3 separate regions of the Homo sapiens genome follow, and all the other regions are linked to region 1. The links are contacts of gene promoters, found by promoter capture Hi-C in blood cells and fetal thymus (Javierre and others, 2016). All regions are on one chromosome and are shown on one strand. Each heading gives the region's core, a stretch centred on a gene start or on the middle of the fragment in contact. The rest is flanking DNA. Distances are from core to core; before and after follow the strand shown.

Region 1 (4,057 bases), core at 1,043-3,542:
GCCTAAAAACATCCGCTTCTCTTTTCCCCTGGGGGCTGCCAGTTCCCTGGGGTAGAGTTCAGTCTGTTGTGTCCAAAGCCTAGCCAGTAGATGCTCCCATGTTTGTTGAATGAACAGAAGTTGGGACGGGAAACCAACAGACGCTCAGGACTGGGGTTTGTTTTTGTTCCTGTAAAACTGGATTGGTTCTGCAGAGGCACAAACAAGCCCGTTGATTTAGATCTATCGAGGAATTGGGGTAGGGGCAGGGGTGGCAGTTTTGCTAAGAAGAAAAGCAGGTGAAAGTGGGAGATTCCAAAAGAGACCAGAGAGAAGGCAGTGTGTCCTGCCCAATCTGCCGCTAGGGTCAGAGACCAGCTCCCTAGTCACACTCGGCCAAGGCAGGCTGCCGGGCTGACTCCAACTCTAAACAAAGCCAGGCAGCCGCCCAGGTGGGTGAAGGCTGCAGATTGCGCTCAGGCGTGACGCCGGGGTGCAGGTGGGAGCGACGCCCGGGTGCGTGGGTGCAGCGCTCGCCCGCCCGCGGTTAGGCGCACCGCGGGAACCGGTCAGGTGCGCCGTGTGGGGCGGGGCGGAGGCAGGGCGTGCGCCCCCAGGCTGGTGCCTGGGGCAGAGGATTCGCCTGCTTGACGCGCTGATGCCTTGATTTGGTCTGACAAGTGGAGGCTGCTTTGAGAAGCGGCCTGTATTTTTGACATTCAGGAAGCTAGAAATAACCAGCTGGGCTCCTGGCGCTCTGGCCGCAAATGTCTTGCGCTTTCCAGGCAACTGCCAGATTGAAGGGGCTTTTCCCCAATGTAGACCTGTGCTCTGTGTGCTAGGAGGCCGAGGTTCCAGTCCAGGCTCGGCTTCTGACTCCCTACTTTAGGAGGAATCACTGAATTGACTGCAGCTCGGCTTCTGCTCTGTAAAATGGGGCTGTTGCTAGCTGAGCCTCTTCTGCCTCTGGTAGAAAATGATTCCAAGTGGCTGCCCTGTCCACCCTAATCCCATGGCCCGAACTTGATGTCTGCTGCTTCTAGAAGCCTAGTGCTCCAAATATCTGCTCTGGGAGGGACTTGCAGATGATCCTGATTGGAAATGAGGCTGATTAACCTTTTGTGTATCATTGACTCTAGGACAATCTGTTGAAACCTAGGGGCTCTTACCCTAGACAAATTAACACACCAGCCAGATACAGCTTACAAGGGCAGAGAGTTGCTGGTTTGAACCACAGACCCCTGGTTTAACATCTGTAATCTAGTCAACCCCTCCTCTTTCTTGAAGGCTGAACCAAACACGAAGGGTTTTCCCCACCTTCCAATCCTCATACATGCAGACACCCCCTTTTCCTGCTTTCTCCTTCAGTCATCTTCCTCACCATCCCCCATGCTTGGGCACTCTCAGGAGGGAAATTGTCCTATAAATATCTGTAAAAGGCATGGTATGTCCTGTAGCAGAGAAAGCAAAAAATAAAAATATAATTCCTCCACCCCTGGCATGGCACGTGCAGAGCTCTGCCTGATCCTTCTCTCCCACAAGCCTCGGGGGTGGGTAAACAAAAGTGAGAGGTGAAGCTGCTGCAGCGAAGTACCCCTTCAAAATCTTCAGTACCCTTCAGAGCCAGCGCTGTCATCACTATCACATAAACTGTACAACTCCAACGTCAACCAGCAGCCGCCTGGCTGGCAGCAGGAAGAGCCAATGCAATTTTGCACAGTGGCTTGCTTGCCCAAGGTATTGCCTGGCAAATGGGCTTCTTGTGCAATGGGGAACCACAGGGAGGGGCCTCTTAAATGTACCTCAAAGAAACAGCTCTAACAATGGATGATTCAACAGGCTAGTAATTGGCGCTCACTCTTACCACATTGTTTTGATAAAACGACATAGCCCAACTGGGGATATGAAGGCAGTAAGTAGAAAAGCTAACCTCTTGCTACTCAAATTGTGGCTGAGAACCAGCGACATCCCATCACCAGAAGCTTTATAGAAAAGCCAGGCTCTGTCCCAGACCTATTGAAAGGAGATCTGCATTTTAACATGATTGCGAGAGGATCCACATCTTAAAGTTTCAGAGGCCTAATCCAAAGTCTTCTGATAATGATCATTAGAGTCCCAGCCACCCCCGACTTCCCCCTGGGAAAACCACAACAAATAGAACAAATTCCTCCAAGCTCTGCTCATAAGAAGAACCCACAACCCACAGACACCCCCTCACTCAACTAGAGACCTCACCCACCTGTTTGCAGAGTCACCCACCTTGGGCTACTTCTTTTCTACTATTTAATCTTCTGGGAAAACAGAGGTCTTCTATTTGGAGATAAAAATGACAAAGGAGAACCTCCTGAACAGCATCCAGTTTGCTTTTAGCTTTAGCCATCTCTCTGACCTCAGTGCTGCTGGACTCAGTTCCAAGATCTAACTGTCAAATGCTTTAGGGGAAACGGGAAGAGAAGTCCCTGGAGTAACCCATGTGCGCAGCCTGGCACTGTTTTCACTTGCCTTTGGAAATGAAGGTGCAGAAACCATGGGAGGTAAGGAGGGCACAGACTAGTGACTTCCAGTGTGGGACAGAGGGGAAAAGATGGAAGAGAAGTGCAGAAAACCACTCGGGAAAAGACAGGCTGGAGTGATGCCTGCTGAGACAGGGCCCTGATCTCCCAGGACTTCCCTTTCTGCCTGTTCTGTAGAAATGTCTCGGGTTTTGTGGTTTAGGAAAAGAGATGCTTAGCAAGCTTGTAGAAAATGTAATGTGGGCACTTTGTTGCTGTCCTGGCTTTTAAAGGACTCTGAAGCAGATCAGCTTCAAGGTATTGGCTATTCTGTTTGCAGCCTTAGAAAGACATCCTTGATGTTTTATTGTTCTGCCTTTGCTAAGAGCTGGAAACTCTCCCTGGGGAAATGGCTCACCTTGAAAGAGATGCTATCGTAGCTGAAAATGTTTTAGCTTCACTTCCAATCTCTGGTTCCTTGTGGGAAGTAACTGCTGCTGTGGTATATATGCCCTGTGCCTTTTATTTTTACCATCTTTACCTCGGTGGACACAGCTGGTTGAAACTCAGTAAAACTTATGCTTCCATGGAGATTGATTCAGACAACAGGAAAAATAAGTGTAGAAAAAAACTGCACAGTACAAGGGCTAGATTCAGGTTGTAGAACAAAGTGATTATTACTTAGAATCCTGGATTAGCAAGAGAATAAGAAAGATGCTGAGATTACCTAGTGTTATCACCATCCACGTGAAACGTAGAATAAAACTTTTTCCCCACCACATAGATATTGGGCAGTTTATTATAGATGCTACAAAGGGATTTATTATATTTTTCCCAAAATGGTTAATTAGAGGCATCCCAAATTACAACTCCTTTAGCATAACTCCCAGCTCCATGCAGCCTACTTACTAAGGACCCAGCTACTGACAGCTCAGCTCTTTGCCAATCCAACTTTTTTTCCCCATATGCTCAAACTTTTCTTCTCCAAGAAGACTTCCTGAATGATCCCAATTCATAGGGATCTCATCCTTAATGCAGGGGAAATTCACTGTTCTGGAGTAGTCTACCATACCATCACGCTCTTCTTTTTGTGTAATCCTGGATTTCTTCTCCAGTTGTTTTATTCTTGCCTGTCTACACAGATAGATCAGTAGCCTTCAATAGTCTGCATCTCCTGTTATCTTGCAGCCTCCTACTATAAACAGTAGGTGCTTTACTTATGCCAGTTGGGTTGACCTAGACAGTAGTCTCTAAGTAGCAGTCCTTGGCTCATCCTTCTGAAACCAACGAGCTCTTAGGCAGGCTGAGAAAGGGTTAGGACTGTTCACTCTGGGACATCCTTGGCTCTGTATGAGTGTTGTTTTTAAAAGCAGGGATTTTGTCTCCAGTGCATTGAAGAGATAAAACCCCATTGTCAGCATATTTCTTCAGGATCTTTCTGTGTTAGATCTCACTGCCAAGCCAGAGTCCCCACACACAGACTCTCACTTTTCCCCCATCAATAGGCTGAAGTGAGGCAAGTAGTAGAATGTGCTCAAATCATGGCCTATTCTTAATAAAAGAAACAAGGACAGCTTGGGGCTGGC
Region 2 (3,674 bases), core at 847-3,346, 290 kb after region 1:
TGAAAAGCAGCCCCAAATCATTTTCTTTTTTCTTTTCTTTTCTTTTCTTTTTTTTTTTTTGAGACGGAGTCTCACTCTGTTGCCCAGGCTGGAGTGCGGCTGTGCGATCTCGGCTCACTGCAACCTCCGCCTCCTGGGTTCACGCCATTCTCCTGCCTCAGCCTCCCGAGTAGCTGGGACTACAGGCGCCCACCACTACGCCCGGCTAATTTTTTTTTTTGTATTTTTAGTAGAGACGGGGTTTCACCATGTTAGCCAGGATGGTCTTGATCTCCTGACCTCATGATTCGCCCGCCTCGGCCTCCCAAAGTGTTGGGATTACAGGCGTGAGCCACCGCGCCCGGCCAGCCCCAAATCATTTTCTAACAAAGAGCAGCCTGTAAAGTCGAGCTGCAGACGTAGACAGCCAACCTGGGAGCTTGCGCTAGTGAATGCTGGCGGGAACTAGGGACTAGACATGTTGGCTCCATCTTCCTTTAGGTGCCAGCCATGTGTACAGTAAAGAGCGACAAGATGGCGGCCAGACACGGAGAGTTCATTAGCATAATAAGATTAGGGTGGGGTGACCGGATTTGGGCGTGCTATGTAAACTTCACATTTGATTAAACCAATCTGTGAGCCCTACCTACCTAAATCAGACACCACCTCCTCAAGCTTTACTATACAATCCGGCACATCCACAGCCAGCCCATCTTTTCCGCTCGGAAAACCCCTCTCTCTCTCGACAGAGAGAGCTGTTTCTCTTCTTCTGCCTATTAAACCTTTACTCCTAAAGGTTTAGGACACAGACACAAACTCCTTGTGTCTGTGTCCTAAATTTTCCAATGCCAAATGGTGAGCCCCTGGATATATACCCCAGACAATGTAGCCTCCTCAGCACTGGAAAACCAAATTAAGTCACCTGAGATTCCTAGCTCAAGTGCTCACAGGAAGATGAAGGCATCTGGGAAGTGTGGGGAGGACATTGGCACACTTGGGGCTCCAAGCGAACTATATTATAATAAGCAGCAACACATTGACTCCCTAAAGACTAACATAAATCCATTTGAAGGCATCTTAAGGTTCTAAGGTTGAAATAATTTTATAATTCTTTGTTTGGAAAAGTACATTCAAAAGAAAACAAAAAGATGTGGATAAGGTCGGGGACATATAAAACAAGTCCCTAAATAGATGACAGACCTTGTCCATATACCCACATACAGTTGCCACAGAAATAAACAGTACCCTTCTCCTCAATTAGGCTCAATAGTTGTCTTTTCCACTGTGGTTCAGTACGTTTTAATGGTTCCACCTTGAAATAGGTAACAATCTTTGGAAAAAGTCACTCTAGGTTGCACAAAGGTTTTATGTTTACAGTTTGGTACAAGTAACAAAGCTACTTTGAAAGAACTGCTTCTTTCCAAACAACAACAACAACAACAACAAACCATTCTAGCCTGTATTTGTTTGGGTGTGATTTATTTTTAGTTTTCATTTTTTGCAAAGCAGCACAGAAGCAATTATAGGAGTGTAGTAATAACCTTTGTAAACATCATTTGCATATCAGTAAGAACTGATTGTCTTTCATTCCTTTTTAGTGAAAGAGGAAGCAAGATGATCAACTCAGAGTGAATAAGGTGGGGAGGTGCTGGCAATTTGAGATTTGTCATCTAGGACTGCAGTGCACAAAGTGGCCAGTTGGGGAGCCCTTGGTTACTGACTTGCCAGGAGATGAGTACAGAAAGTGAGAGCAAGCTTTTAGAAACTGTTATAGCACTTGACATTGCTGTAACATTTTTATTGTATTTTTAAAAAGTATTGGTCTATAATAGATTGGAAATAAAAACATCTAGTCCTCACAGCAGATAGTTTAAGAGGCACTGGGCCAAGAGAATGGGAGAAAATGGAGTAGGGAAAAGTAGAAAGATTGCTGCACTACATTGAGGATCCACCTGAGGCTTGAGGCCATGAATTTCATGTGAGGCCATTCGATTCAAGAGTGTTTTTCTCCAGCCTTGTTTAGCTATGTTGATACAGGCAGTGTTGGATTTTACCAGGGTGTGGTTTTGCTAAGTGGGCCTAATGCAGTGGGAAGATGCAAGTGTTGAGGAAGTATTCAAGTGAGGTGTACGGAGACTGACCATGGCATTTTAAGCTGGGGGAAGAAGAAAGCAATCGGAGGAGGGTGAGAGGCAGTGACGAAAGTGGTAGGATGGATGGAATCTAGGACCAGGAAGAATCAAGTTGGCTGGAGTTGGAATGTAGGACCAGCAAGGAGTGAACTAGAAGTATGGAAGGTGGTGATCAGAGAGTGGGATTTCTGATAATGAGATTCATCACAATACTGCTCACCAACTGGGAGGGAATCTGAATTAATTATTTTGTATATATCCAGTGGACTATTTTGTAGCCATTAGAGCTCATGTTGTCATTCTATTTCTTTATGGGCACAGAAATGTTCAGGATATCTTAAGTGAAAAAAGCTTACCAATTTGCAAAATTAAGTGGCAAAATTTACTAATTTTTTTTGGTAAAAATATAAACATTTTAATGCACAGAAGTCTTAACTGTGGTAGTATCTGGATGGTTGAATCACAGATGCCTTTTACTTTCTTTCGGATAATCTCCTTTTTGTTTTCGAGACAGGGTCTCCCTCTGTTGCCCAGGCTGGAGTGCAGTGCAAACATGACTCACTACAGCCTTGATCTCTTGGGCTCAGGCTCTTGCTTCAGCCCCCCACGTAGCTGGGACCACAGGCACGTGCCACCATGCCTGGCTTATTTTTATATTTTTTGTAGAAAGGGGGTTTTGGCATGTTGCCCAGGCTGGTCTCGAATTCCTGGGCTCAAGCAATCTGCCCACATTGGCCTCCCAACGTGCTGGGATTACAGGTATGGGCCACCATGCCCAGCCTGTTTGATAGAATTCTTACATAGGCATATTTTAGAGATACTGGGGATTCAGTTCCAGCCTATTGCAATAAAGCAAGTATCTCAATAAAGTGAGTCACACAAATGTTTTGGTTTCCTAGTGCATATAAAAGTTACGTTTACACCATGCTATAGTTTATTAAGTATACAATAGCATCATATCCAAAAAAATACCTACCTTAATGAAATATACTTTATTGCTAAAAAAATACTGGCACAGAGTCACAAAGTGAGCACATACTTTGGAAAAATAGTGCTGACAGACTTGCTTGATGTAGGGTTGCTACAAACTTTCAATTTGTAAAAAAAACACACACAATATCTGCAAATCACAATAAAATGAAGCGCAATAAAGTGAGTTATGTGTGCTTTATTGTTATATTCTTATAGCTTTATGAAAGTATAATTTGCATGCAAAAATTCACCAGTTTTAAGTGTACCATCCTATAACTTTTGACAAGTGTGTAGTTTTGAAACTACCACCACATTCATCTTGTAGAACATTTCTCTCATGCCAAAAAATTTCCCTTGTCGCCCATTGCAGTCAGTCTCCTCTCCCACCTCCCGGACCCTGGAAACCAGTGATCTGCTTTCCATCATGATAGTTTTGTCTTCTCTAAAATTTTATATAGATGGGATCATATCATATGTCATCCTTTGTGTCTGGCTTCTTTCACTTAACATAATGCTTTGGAGATTCATCATTGTTCTTGTGTGCATCAATGTTTATTCCCTTTTAAAAAGTAGACATATTTTAGAGTAGTT
Region 3 (4,170 bases), core at 409-2,908, 510 kb after region 1:
TAAATTTCTCTCAAAATGGAAAAAAAAGGATGAACGGTAAAAAAAAAAAAAAAGAAAAAAAGAAAAAAAAATAAGAATGGTGGCAGAATGGATCCAGGAACAGCCAGGCTTTTCTTTTATATAAAGGCTTTTTATAGACTTAATTTTAAATAATGGAATTTTCAGTTCTTTAGAGGGACTGGTTTATTTACTTCATGGTTTCAATTAAGTGGAGTCTATTTTTATTTAGCCCAAATCTCAAGTTACGATTATTTGATATGAAAATTATTTGAAAATTGAACTAAAATGAAATGGCCTTCCAAGTGAAATTATACAAGGTGTAATGATGCAGATCTTGCACTGTGAATATATACAAAATATATTTTGTGCCTAGGAGACAGCATTAATCAGTAATGCCCCTCTGGCCATTGACATTGGTTTTGTAGTAAATCTCTGATAAAAGATACTTCTTCCAAAGTTCTTTTTCAAGTAAAGCTTAGTCCAGAATAAATGTAACAATCAATCCAGAGATATGGCTGGAGGTGATGATGGTAGTAGCTACCATTTATTGAGCAGTTAATATATGCCAGGCACTGTGATAAGGATTTTACCAAATTGTTTCCTTTTACTGGCCCTTACGGTTATTTTTCCATTAGATAGATCCCTCCTATCATGATTCTGTGACATTGGAAGGCATTAAGGAATGGTGTTTAATACCTAATTTGAAATTAATTTTGATGAAATAAGTCATATACATATATAAACCTTTAATATAATTTGCAGGGATGGGGGAAGAAGGAGAGAGGTGAATGGATTTTATTAGCATCCATTTGAGAAAATAAACAGGATGCATCTCTTATTAGGACTTGGAGTGTCACACACGCTAAATGCTCAAGGTAAAAAAAAAAAAAGGAATCACAGAAAACCCTGTTTCCAAGCCTTAACTGCTAACATGTTGGCGTGTGTAGGTAGTATCTAAGGAGGGGTATGCATACACATCTGTGCCCCTGTGTAGATGTCTCTGCTGAGGACCAGAAATGGTAGCTCACATATGTGGTTTGTGGCTTGTTAAAAAGCAGCCCTTCATATGGAGGCACCCAAAGCCATTAACTTTATACATTTTGTTTAAAAAAAGAAAAAACTCTGCTTACCCGTTAGTTTACTACCAAGCCGTATCAAATCCCACACACTAACTCTTAAAAAATATTTTGAATCTCTCTCCCAAAAACAAAACAGACCAAATGATTTGCCTGCCTATTGATACTCTGTCTCCTTGGTGATTGTGCCATGAGGCTTGGAAGTGACTTCTCCAGGTCACCTCCCATTTACCTGCCTGCTGGAGCTTTAATAGAAGACTCGGTATTGAGGGTACTAAATGTTCTCAGACTCCAAAAATACCCAGACATCTCTGTGTGCTCCATTCAACCTCCTATCTATTTTGAGAAAAAACTGTAATTTGGTGCTCCTACAGTAGAACCTCAAATCCAACTCGGAGGCAGTTCCCGTAACTGCCTGCTTTGCAGGCTTAGCTTGCCTTTTAAGAAATGATTTATTTGCCTCTTAGCTGTATTGAGAACTCTGTCTTCCCCTGTGTATCTGGCATCAGGAACATATTGTAGGCCTGTTTACTTTAGGCCACACAGATGACATCAACACTATCTTACTAAAACAGAAAGGCTTTCAATTTGACAGAAAATCTTTAAACCTACCTGGGTTTTGACAATTTGACACAAGTATTCTCATCTTAAGGAAAAGCCCAGGATATTGGAGCTCAAGGAATCATTTATTTTGTCTCAGCAGGAAACTGGTCGTGCAGTGTGACTACCTGTTAGGCTGATGGATTTTCGAGCTCTGCTCTTCTCTGCTGGCGAAGGCCTTTGGCTTTTTCCTGCAGACCCAGGGCTTGGCAGGAAAGACAATGGGAGTGTGGCTGGTGATTTTGAGCACACAGGGAGACAGGTGTCCCACTTTTCATCTCTGCTTTCCACTGATTAATTGGTTGGCCTTGAGAAGTTAATTAAAATCTGCCAAATGGGGATAAGAATGAAGAGATTTTTACCTTGCAGGAAGGTCAGATGGATTAGTGGTATTAACAGTACCCAAGTGAGGAGCTCCTTCAGTTGCCTGGTGAGAGGTAAAGTGTGTTGAAATAATTAATTGCTATGAAAATACCAGCATTCACAAATCTTTTTCTCAAATCAACCCAGGGAGGGGCTACAAAGCCCAGTTTTCATGGGCCACAGCTTGAATTGGCCTATCCAAAGCCCAGCCATTGGCAGGATCTGTTTATTCAGAGGAGTTCTTAGGACAGTCAGGAGCTCTACCCAGGACTCTCTTAGAAACCTGCAGGTGGAGTGAGCATTTATCCGAAGAGACAGCCTGATACATAAGTGGAGAGAGCTCCTCATTCACTAAAATATTTTTACCTTGGCATTGAAGTTGACAAAACTAAGAGCTATTAACTAACATTAAGAGCAGGGGCCTCAAAGGATGTGAAAACCACAGAGAGTGTGATTCCAACCCCCACCTTCCGTCTTCTCCCCCTTCATCTTGTGCGCTTGCTCTCTCTCTCTCTCTCTCTAGTGCTCTCTCGCTCTCTCTCTCTCTCTCTATATATATATATATAAACACACACACACACACACACACACATATGTCTATATGTAGAAATAGTTATGCCTAAAGGTTTGGGGAAGAAGAAAGGAGACTGTATGTTTCAAAATAAGGTTTGAAATTTTGAGTATTGGATACGAGTTAAGGCAGGCCTGGGACTCAAACTGCCAGGGCATGAGTCCTGGATAATCTTGTCTGGGAATTTGATCTGGGCTTGGGGGGAGAGAGCGTGTTAGTTATTTAGTCTTTCTAAGCTTGAGTTTCGTCCTCCATAAAATGAAGATATTAAAATACCTACCTCATTGCATTGATGTAAATATTCAAAAAGATAATGTTTCTTAGTTGGGTTCCTCAAAAAAGCAGAGCCTACGTAAAGGCTTTGTTCCCTGCTTTGGGAGTGCAACCCCAGGGAACAAAAGTGCGAGACAAGGGAAGTAAGGCAGGGAAGAAGGGAGGTCAAGTGTGAGAATACACAGTTGAATTGGCCACCACTCAGTATGGCTAATTGCCTGATCTTGTGTGATCACACTCCAAGAAGCTGTATGAACTGATAGGACAACTGACTACGGGGCAAAAAGTAGACTTCACATATATTGGTGTCAAGCAGGGTTCTGCAGCTGTCTAAGCCTTGGCGGTCGACAGAGAGACCAATGATAAGAAATGAGAATTATATTGTGTGGGTAGAAGGTAAGACTTTATTGAGTAGTTCCAGGCTGAAACTACTTAGAGCCCATATAGGCTGTGCCTTAGGGGAAGATGGAACATGAGTTAAGGCCAAGAAGATCTGAAGTGTTTAAGAGCCAATTTTTATAGTCTGTAAAGGATTTGATATGGTATTTGGCATAAGAAATAGTTTAGTAGATGTTAGCTATTATTACTTATGGTCAGAAATGCAATACAGAGATGATCAAGAGTAGGCTAAAATAGATGGGAGTTTTAGGAAGAGACAAGGGAGTTTGAGAGAAGATTCTGACTTGATTTTTGAGTTGGCCTAAATCCTTGGAGACTTGCTTCTAATATATATACACTAGTCAGTTGTATTCAAAAGTCTCTATAGCAACCACTTTTATCACTTGAAACTAAGTACCTCTGAATAGAAACACTCACGCATGATTGCATGCTCACAGGAAAGGATATAAGAAGCTTCACTTATTTTACAAGAAATCTAAATTTTCTTGCAGGCTAATTTGAATCTTAAAAGAAAAGGATATTTATTAGATGTCTACTGTCTGTCAAGTCCTCTACTTTTTACAACATCCCTACACAGAAGGTACCATCTCCATTTTACAGTTGAGGAAAATAGAACATGGAAAGGATTAAATGACTTGCCCAGTGTCATAGAGCTAGTAAGTGGTAGGCCTGGGCTTCCTAAGGAAATACGAACCCAGAGAACCATGAACTTTCACCCAGACTATGTGGGAAAGTTTCATTGATGGATGCACATTTTGAGGCATTGTATTATAATTTGAAACGAGATCTCTAAATTAGCAAGTTCTGGTGTTCAATTGCATAAATAAGAACTGGTTTGCAATAAGAATCAGATCAAAGTTTAGTTACAGGTAAGGATCATGCCTTCAG

The links. Contacts are between HindIII fragments. The CHiCAGO score rates a contact against its expected background, and 5 or more counts as called.
Region 2: a fragment that was not itself captured here is called in contact with the fragment with the promoter of LINC03033 in region 1 in 1 of 17 cell types (activated CD4 T cells); the score reaches 5.1 in activated CD4 T cells.
Region 3: a fragment that was not itself captured here is called in contact with the fragment with the promoter of LINC03033 in region 1 in 1 of 17 cell types (total B cells); the score reaches 5.3 in total B cells.

The regions. Positions count from the first base shown.
Region 1 is chr14:61,568,248-61,572,304 of GRCh38, forward strand. It overlaps LINC03033 (long intergenic non-protein coding RNA 3033), which reads left to right and starts at 2,293. Exons shown (of 3, transcript NR_039985.1): 1 at 2,293-2,513. It overlaps LINC01303 (long intergenic non-protein coding RNA 1303), which reads right to left and starts at 2,406. Exons shown (of 5, transcript NR_110416.1): 1 at 2,239-2,406; 2 at 1,297-1,430. RefSeq lists enhancers at 1-499, 500-999 and silencers at 341-410, 491-650, 1,391-1,583. The HindIII fragment of the contact is 753 bases long and covers 1,960-2,712 here.
Region 2 is chr14:61,858,813-61,862,486 of GRCh38, forward strand. All of the region lies in intron 1 of SYT16 (synaptotagmin 16), which reads left to right. Among named protein-coding and RNA genes, the nearest start is that of SYT16, 48 kb to the left of the region's middle. The HindIII fragment of the contact is 728 bases long and covers 1,733-2,460 here.
Region 3 is chr14:62,075,567-62,079,736 of GRCh38, forward strand. All of the region lies in intron 5 of SYT16 (synaptotagmin 16), which reads left to right. Among named protein-coding and RNA genes, the nearest start is that of LINC00644, 62 kb to the right of the region's middle. The HindIII fragment of the contact is 2,372 bases long and covers 473-2,844 here.